Regions from separate parts of the Homo sapiens genome. Here all the other regions are linked to region 1. The links are contacts of gene promoters, found by promoter capture Hi-C in human tissues and cell types (Jung and others, 2019). All regions are on one chromosome and are shown on one strand. Each heading gives the region's core, a stretch centred on a gene start or on the middle of the fragment in contact. The rest is flanking DNA. Distances are from core to core; before and after follow the strand shown. Region 1 holds the start of B4GALT6 (beta-1,4-galactosyltransferase 6). Region 2 has its middle 20 kb from the start of TTR. Region 3 has its middle 8.1 kb from the start of SLC25A52.

Region 1 (2,967 bases), core at 246-2,745:
AAGGGTAGACCACGGCCTAGGAGGTGGATGAAGACACCCGTCCGTTTGCCTACTGAAGCAAGATGGGGCTGAGGCGCTCAAGGGCCTATTGGCTGCCCAGAAGCCTTTGCAGCGCCGCCTGAATACAGCGAGGATGACCCAGGGTTCACCTTCAGCGTTGAAGGCAAGTCCTGGTATAAGGGACGCACATAGGTCCGCGCCACATCCTGACACTGTTTCCACAGGAAGTGCGGGATAGGAGGGGGGATTCATTAATCCAGGTCGGAAATACACCTTGTTCCTCGAGGATTTTGGAAGGAAATTCCACCCGCGAAGTCCCCTTTTGGAGATGCCCTTTTCCTTTCAGGTACAGCATCCTTCATTATGTACCCCCAGGGTACAATGTATCCGGGGCTCGCAACGCGTCCCTCAACCCCCAGCAGCGCGGTCACCGCGGGGTCCCCGGGCGGGCGGGGGCGGCGGTGACGCAGGAGGCGGTGGGGCCCCGGTGCGGCGGGCGCGGGGAGGGGGCTGCTGGGCGCGGGCCTATCAGGACGCGCGGTGTTTCGGGCGCGGGGAGGGCGGGGACCTCCAGGTTTCCTCGGGGCCCGGCGCAGCGCCGCCTGCCGAGTTCCGAGCGAGCGCGCGAAGCGCGCAGGGGTCTCGAGACGTTCCCGCCGGTCCCGGTTTTCCTCCGCGGCTCCCCCGCCCCTTCACGTCCGCCTCTTTCTCCAACCAGACGCGGCTCCGACGGCGCTCGGCCTCTGCTCTTCCGGCTCCCCGGCTCTGCCCGCAGCGCGCGTCGCCCGGTTGCTCTTCGCCTGGTGTCCGCGGGCCCGGCGGGGGCGCCTCACCCCGGGCGCGCGGCGGTAATGCCGCTGCCGCCCTTGCGGCCAGGCAGGCAGCTGGCGGCGGCCGGAGTCGGAGCGCGTTCGTCGCTGGCCGGGACGCCGCCCTGGCCTGTGCTCAGCTCCCGCGGCGGCCGCGGGGCGCCGGGGCCCGGCGCGGCATGAGGAGGCGGCTCGGTGCAGGCGAGCGCCCAGCTCCTCGGCCCCGAGGGCCCCCGCGGGCCCCCGCGCGTGGCGCGCGCTGGTTGCGGCCCCGGCGCCCACGCTAGCCCCGCGCAGGCAGGAGACGCCGCGGCCCGGAGTAGGAGGCGGCGCAGGGCCTGCCGAGCGGACGCGGGCGGCCCGGACCTTAAGCACGGGGCTTCGCGGCGGGACCCCGCCGGGCGCGGGCAGCGGAGCCGGGCGTGCTGCAGTTAGCTGCCCCTCTCCGCAGGGGCGCCGCGGCGCGCAGCCTGCGCCTCCTCCCACCTGCAGCCCCTCCTCCCGCCGCTGCTTGGCGGAGAAAACGCTCCTCCTCGCCCTTCCCCGGCTTTCTTCCGTCCTGCCGTCCCCGGGCCCCTAGCCCCCAGTCCCCTCTCCCCCCTCCACCTCTTGTCCCTCGGCCTCCGCGCCTCCCCTCCCCCGACTCTCTGGCCTCCCATTCATTCCGTCCGCTCCCTCCCATTTCCTCTTTTCCGCTCGGGCCCTCTCCCCAGAGCCTCCCCGCGCGGACCCCGCTGCAGTCTCGGGGTTCTCAGCACATTTATGGAAGTTTAGGGCCTGGACAGTGGCCCCGAGTCCGGCCTGAGAGCGCAGCCTGGGCTGCTGGCAGGGAAGAGGAAGATGTCTGTGCTCAGGCGGATGATGCGGGTTTCCAATCGCTCTCTCCTCGCCTTCATCTTCTTCTTCTCCCTCTCTTCGTCCTGTCTGTACTTCATCTATGTGGCCCCAGGCATCGGTAAGCACCGAGACACACCCTCGCTTCCCCTGGTCACACCACAGCCAGCGCAGGCTGTTATCCGATGTTACTTCTGGGATTTGGAAGCTGTTCAAACAGGGGCCCGCAGAAAAGCGTTTTGTTTTAAATGTTATTTCAGACGTGTCAAACTGCTTCAGGGCATGGCTTTGGTATGTGAGTTTTGTTAATGCATGCATTTTGTTAATGCATGTTTGTTAATAACGTAAAAGATTGCATTAAATAGACGTAGCAAAATTAGTGTGATGGCCCGGGATGCCCTAGTCGCTTTCTTGAGTGTTCATGACAGCTTTATCCATTTAATGTTAAGTCTTTAAGCCTAAACTGAGTGCTTAATCGTAGTTTTATTCAAACACTCTCGGGTATAATAACTGGTTGTAAAAATATGGAGGAGCCAGCAGCAGGGAATGTGATTGAGTCCAACAATGTGTGTTTTCTAGGGTCCTAGGTCGCTTTTTTAGAATGGGGTCAGTGGACCCCATTCTTTTTGTGCCATACTTGGGGAATTTTAAGGCGATGAGTTGTCTTGTAAAAACAATGCTCCATTATTTTAGTCTGCTTGGGTGTTATTTTCAAGGGTACGTTGCCTTTGCTACCTGTTAGGATGACTTCTGAGAAAATAGTGATTAAAATAACCGTTATCTAAGGGAACTTGTAGTTTAAAATGTTAACCGGTTTATCATTTTTTGGCCTTTGGTGCAAAATACACTTTTGTAAAACTGCTTGAATTAACTTCTTTATTAAATATCCGAATTCCTCGTCCCCCATTTGTTGAAAAGGAGCCAATGCGGCGTTAATTCTAGTGAATGAGAATTATGAACTTCACATGCATATTAAAATATGTCATATTTCCAAAACTTTTCTGAGTTTTTCCTGGCTATTACGTATTTAATGTTCAATTACTTAGTAACAGTGAGCATCTCCTCTCATTTCTCCTTACACACTGTGGTCGTTTGAGCCAGTGCTCTTTGTTCCGAGTTAGCTAAAAATGTAATGCCCCTTACAGAGTGAAAACACCTGCAGAATTTTCAGATGGAATGATCAGGGCATTGTCTTGAGTGTAGTAGATTATTGCAGTGAATTGCAGCAGGGAAGGAAGATGGAAACCTAATCCAGACTGCTTCATTTCTTAAAATTACTATGAGACTTTTTCTTTAATAATTAATTTTTGGATTCAGTGAGGTG
Region 2 (2,967 bases), core at 144-2,643, 72 kb after region 1:
TAATTACAAGGGTTCCTATAAGAAGGGGTCATAAACCAAGGAATGTAAGTTGCCTCTAGAAGCTGGAAAAGGCAGGGATATTGATTCTCCCTAAAGCATCCAGAATGAACACAGCCCTGCCAACACTTTAATTTTAGACTTCTGGTCAGAAGTCTAAAATTACACCTCCAGAGGTGTAAGATGACCATTTTGTGTTGCTTTAAGCTACTGAATTTGTGGTAACTTGTTACGGTAACAATAGGAAACTAATACACATACCTATACAAATTAACAAGTCCCAGTCCCTTTGGACTATTAGACATACTTTATAAAATCGTCCATTAAAGGACATAGACAATACACACAAAAAATAAAAGACATGGAGAAATGACCACCTTCAATAATTAAATGAAAGTTAAGATAATTATGAGATATAATGGTATGTCTGTTAAAATGACAAAATATTATCAATAAGCAGCACTGGTAAGGCCGTAATGCCATAGAACTTATTATATTAATGTGTTCATATGCTAATATTACTCCAAACAGTAATAGAGCTCTTGAGAGCTTATTATGTACCATACATTGTTTTAAGTCCCTTGACATGTATTATGACAACTGGTTTCTAAAGTAACTCTCTGGAGTAGGTGCTATGATTATTCCCATTTTACAAATGGAAAAAGAAAAAACAAACAAGGAAAGAAAGCTTATGTAATCTGTACAAGACAATAACAAGATAGTACTATTTGCGAGAATGGAGCCAAGAATTCTTCCCAAGTAGTTTGATACCCAAGGCCTTGCTTAGTGTAGGAGTTATATACTCCTAGAAATGTTAGGTCATTCACTTAATAATTCAAATTCAACAGAAGGAAAGAGCTTTATGCTTCGTAAATCTGTTAATTGCAGCACTAATTACAAATACAAAAAACTAAGTTGAAACTAAGTATGTATCACATTACGGGGGTGGTCTAATTATAGTATATAAACAAGATGGTAATTTTTTCAAAAAATGAAAATGATTGTAAAGAGTACGAGAAACATGGGAAATTGGTTATGATAAAATCATTAAAGCATAAAAAATAATCTCACAGTTATGATTGCAACTTTAAACATTTTTTATAATCTATTAATAAAAAAAATTCTACTTTGGCAAAACCATGGGTTACTATAATTTTAATTTCTTTAACATTAAATTATTTTCAAGAAGAGTATAATAAAATAATTACCGTTGAAAAAATTCTGACAATTTTATTCTCAATATATCATAGGATTGACTCTTTCAATTTAACATTATGTGTGAGGAGAAAGCCTATTTTGGATCCATTACTGATTTCTTTGTATTTCCTTTTATCTTACCGCAGAGAAGATGATGAATATTTTTATAGCTGTATCAGTTAAGACAGTCTTGGTCATAAATAACGAAATAATTGAATCAAACTCACTTTAAAAAGGAAACTCTTTAGTTAATGTGGTGAACATTCCAGAAATAGTGCTTCAGCCACTCAGCAGTGTCATCAAGACTGACTTTCTCCCTTCCTGGAACTGCCCCCTCTCCCGAGGATGGCTCCCCTCGCAGTCCTAGGATGGCTGCCAGCACCTGCCAGGGCTGCCTTTGCCCGGGGACTTACCACGTTTTTATCTATTCATAAAAGAGAAGCCCTGGGTTTCCCTGTGATTGGGCCATTTTAGATCCCTGCCGTCCCTAAACCAAGTGCATGGCAAAGATGATGAGACTTCACTGATTTAGACCAATGAGTTCCTCACTCCCACTCCCCTCCTCATGGAGCTATGGCTGAGATCATTTTCATTCCTACTCTGTGGGAGAAGAATGAATGGGATGGATGCTGGTGTTGTAGCTATAATGTCCATTATGGAGCATTTGTGAATTTCCCTTTTTTTGTGTTTACCTTTTTACAGACGAATCCCAGGCAAGGCGCTGACTCTCTGTGAGGGTCCCAAATCCCCATGTAGGACCCCCATTCCCTGTGCAGGCCCCAACTACCCTAGCAATGCCTGGATCCAGGCAGTTCTCCCATCCCTCGCTGCTGCTCTGTGAAGAGGCCTAGAAGAGCAGAGGGTGTCTGTCTTTCAACTCCCTCAATCAACACCTTCTTAGCAGGTTTTGGTTGTTGTTTTGAAAGAGGCAACCCTTGTTGTTTTGATTCTGGCCCTAGTCAGAAGGACACTTTAAATAGACTGGTTCTATTTTTAAATATTCCGAATAACTAAGTTGTTGAAATCAATCCACAGATGCAGAAACTGCCAGTCGATATTTGAACAAGGTTACCCACAAGAGCTGGTAGTTTTCTAGTGTTTCCCAACAAAATGGTCAATTTCTCATATACTGGTGGGTCGTGATGCCATTTCTCACATCTGAGCAAGAGGAAAAACAACACCCTCATAAAGCCCATGGGCTCAGGAAGGGTTTAGATGAGAGCTATTTGCCTACCTAGAGTCAAACCTCTCATTCCTTCCTTCCAAGAATGCTGCTCCATCCTGCTCAAATATTTATTGAGCACGGACTGTGTGCTAGGCACTGTCCTCCAGAGACTTAGAAATATATTCCTATATCTTTTCCAAATACACTTTCCTAATGAAGCCAAGAGTAGTGTTCATTGAGCTCAGCACAAGTCCTTCAGGCAGCAGCCCAGGCTCTGAGGTCAGTCTCAGCATTCTCTCCTGAAGCCTGTTACTGCGCTTCCACACCAGGCATTATACCCAGTTCCACCACCCTCCCCCTCCTGGGGAGTGAAAGTAATGGCAGCAACAGCAGGTAGGTGACTGCTGAGCCTGGAGGGAAGCTCCACACAAGTGTTGATTTAAGAAAGCCTGCGTGTGACCCGCCTCTCCTTCGGCACTTGCATTGATTGCCAAAGATGAATTACCATCTGCCTTGGCTTTAAATTAACTGGGGCAGTTCTAACCCAGAGAGAATGGGGAGCCAGGAAAATGGAATTGATTCTAAGCTTATTTCCATTTTGAAAGGCA
Region 3 (2,967 bases), core at 162-2,661, 68 kb before region 1:
AAAAGACTATAGGCCACTGCTATGGTTTGAATATGTTCCCCCCAAATTTATGTGTTGTAAACTTAATCCTCATTGTAACAGTATTAAGAGGTAGAAACACCAGGAGGTAATTAGAATTAGATAAGGCCATCAGGAAGAAGCATCCATGATGGGGCTGGTGGCTTTATAAGAAGAGGAAGAGAGACCTGAGCTGGCACACTCTTACTTCCTCACCATATGATGGCCTGTGCCACCTTGGGACTCTGCAGAGAGTTGCCATCAGCATGAAGGCCCTCACCAGATGCAACCCCTGAACCCTGGCCTTCCCAGCCTCCAGAACTGTAAGAAATAAATATCTCTTCTTTATAGTTTACCCAGTCTGTGGAATTCTGTTATAGCAAGAAAAAATGGACTAAGAAAACTACCCATGTGAACATGACTTTTTTTGTTCCCGACAACACCTATTCAGAAAATATAAGGTTGCACACCAATAAGTACTTTTACTCTGTGCTTCAGGAAATGCCAAGACCAATTAATTGGAGACAATACATTGAATTCCAAAATTCACAGACCAATTTATTGGAGACAATACGTTGCTTATCTGGGCAAACCCTTGCTTTTTAGCCACAGTTTACCTATTCAAGACCCTTGCTTTGCCGTGACTGCCAACTTAAACTACTATGTAAAACATATATTTACATATAAACATTTTTATGTATCATTAAATATGTAATTGTATGTATAATATATAAACAATTTTTATATATTGTACATGTAATTTGTATTGATACATTATAGAAATATATATATATTTCTCTATATATAAAACAGGTCTTTCAAGGGAGAGAATATATACATTCCTTGAACGGCCTGTTTTAAAACACTTGAACTCAGACCTCAGTGCCCTATAAGTATTCTATTTCTGATTCCCCTTGTGAGGTGCTGCCAAGACTGTCAAGGATGTATTCTTTCTTGGCAGAAAGTTCTAATAAATTTAGCTTTGATTTATTAAATATTGATAGTTTAGGGAGTTCAACAGAGCAAATAAATATTTCCTAATTTATTGTATATTTTTGGTAATTATGTGTATTTAAGGACTGCCTGTATTTATCATTTGCTTTTTGCAGAGAATCCTCCTTTTAAATGCGAAGAAATACTTAGCCCCATCTTACAGAATATCATTACTTGCTGAATGTGTTTAACTTCTTTTTTTAAAATTTATTTTTACTTTTTTTACTTTACAAATAAAAATTGTATACATTTATGATGTGCAACATGATATTTTGATATATACATTGTGAAATAATTAAATCAAACTAATTAATATATTCATCACCTCACATTTATCATTTTTTGTGGTGGGAATACTTATGTTCTCTCTTAGCAATTTCCAAGTACACAATACATTGTTATTACTACAGTTCACCCTTGAACAACACAGGTTCGAACTGTGTGGGTCCACTTACATGCAGATTTTCTTCTGCCTGTGTCACCCCTGAGACAGCAAGACCAACCCCTCCTCTTCCTCCTCCTTCTCAGCCTTCTCAACATGAAAATGAGGAAGATACAGACCTTTATGATGATCCCCTTCCATTTCTTCCTTATAATATTCTTAATAACATTTTCTTTTCTCTAGCTTACTTTATTTAAGAATATAGTATATCACACATGTAACATACAAAATATGTGTTAATCAACCTTTTGTCATGGGCAAGGCTTCTGGTCAACAGTGAGATATTAGTAGTTACGTTTTTGAAGAGTCAAAATTTATACATGGATGTTTGACTGCATGTGGGGTTGGTGCCCCAACCCGCAAGTTGTTCAACAGTCAACCATATAATTGCCATGTTGTATGATAGTCTTCTGAACTTATTCCTCCTGTCTAACTTAAATTTCGTGTCCTTAAGCCAACATCTCCCCCAAACCCTCAACCTCAGCCTCAGTAGCCACTATTCTACTCTTTGTTTCTATGAGCTCAGCTTTTTAGATTCTACATATAAGTGAGATCATGCGGAACTTGCCTTTCTGTGCTTGGCCTATTTCACTTATCATAATGTCTTCCAGGGTCACTTATGTTGTCCCAAACGACAGAATTTGCTTCTTTTTTGAGGTTGAATAGTATTCCATTGTGTATATATACCACATTATTCATCTGCTGATGGACACTTAGGTTGATTCCATATCTTGGCTATTGTGAATAATGCTTCAGTGAACATGGGAGTGAAGATCTCTCTTTGACATACTGATTTCATTTACTTTGGATATACACCCAGAAGTGGAATTGCTGGATCGTGTGGCAGTTCTATTTTTACATTTTTGAGGAAGCTCCATGCTATTTTCCATAATGGCTGTACCAATTGAATATTTCCACCATCGGCGTGCAAGGGCTCCTGTTACTCCATGTCCTCTCCAACACTTGCTATCTCTTACCTTTTTGATAATAGTCTTGGGATGTCCTTAATTTTGCATGGACATGAATGGATGTGATTACAGCTGGCTGTAGGCAAAGTCATGAAGTTAGTTAAATTAAATTTCTATAAAGTAACTTTGCTTTGTCTCCTAGTTCTTTCTGAAGCGTCGGCAACCTGCTAGAGGTAACCAGTGCTCTCCTGCTTTCTAAGGATCTGCACTACAGTTCAGTCAAATTGTGTCCCAAGTTCGCATTTATCAACTTCCACCTTCCTCTTTACAGCTCGTACCCTTCCCACCATTATCCCATTAACGGTCATCATCACTCCCGGGCAAATTCTTGATTTTGTAACAGTTATCTTAGGAATCAGAGCAGGAATTCTGGTCTCTTTCTCAGAGCTCATGCCCAGAAGAACTCAGGGCCCCTGTGGGTCTGTATTGGTGAATGTTAAAAATTTAGCTTTATCCATTTTGGGAGTAGGGGAAAATGGGAAGAAAGGGCATGAGAGTGAAGGGTAAGAGGAAAAGGGAAGAGAAAGAGAGGACTAAGAAAGGTAGATGTGCATGGTACCTCCTGAT

Evidence for each region. The method cuts DNA at HindIII sites, captures the fragments that hold promoters and counts their contacts. A contact is called where the count stands out against the background at its distance.
Region 2: a fragment that was not itself captured here is called in contact with the fragment with the promoter of B4GALT6 in region 1 in 2 of the 25 tissues and cell types used here (lymphoblastoid cells and mesendoderm cells).
Region 3: a contact is called between a fragment that was not itself captured here and the fragment with the promoter of B4GALT6 in region 1, in 2 of the 25 tissues and cell types used here (mesendoderm cells and neural progenitor cells).

Annotation. Positions count from the first base shown.
Region 1 is chr18:31,683,109-31,686,075 of GRCh38, reverse strand. It overlaps B4GALT6 (beta-1,4-galactosyltransferase 6), which reads left to right and starts at 1,495. Exons shown (of 9, transcript NM_004775.5): 1 at 1,495-1,764. The coding sequence starts at 1,650. RefSeq lists a silencer at 359-1,398. The HindIII fragment of the contact is 7,513 bases long and covers 1-2,967 here.
Region 2 is chr18:31,610,825-31,613,791 of GRCh38, reverse strand. No RefSeq gene overlaps it. Among named protein-coding and RNA genes, the nearest start is that of TTR, 20 kb to the right of the region's middle. The HindIII fragment of the contact is 5,182 bases long and covers 1-2,967 here.
Region 3 is chr18:31,751,342-31,754,308 of GRCh38, reverse strand. No RefSeq gene overlaps it. Among named protein-coding and RNA genes, the nearest start is that of SLC25A52, 8.1 kb to the left of the region's middle. The HindIII fragment of the contact is 6,906 bases long and covers 1-2,967 here.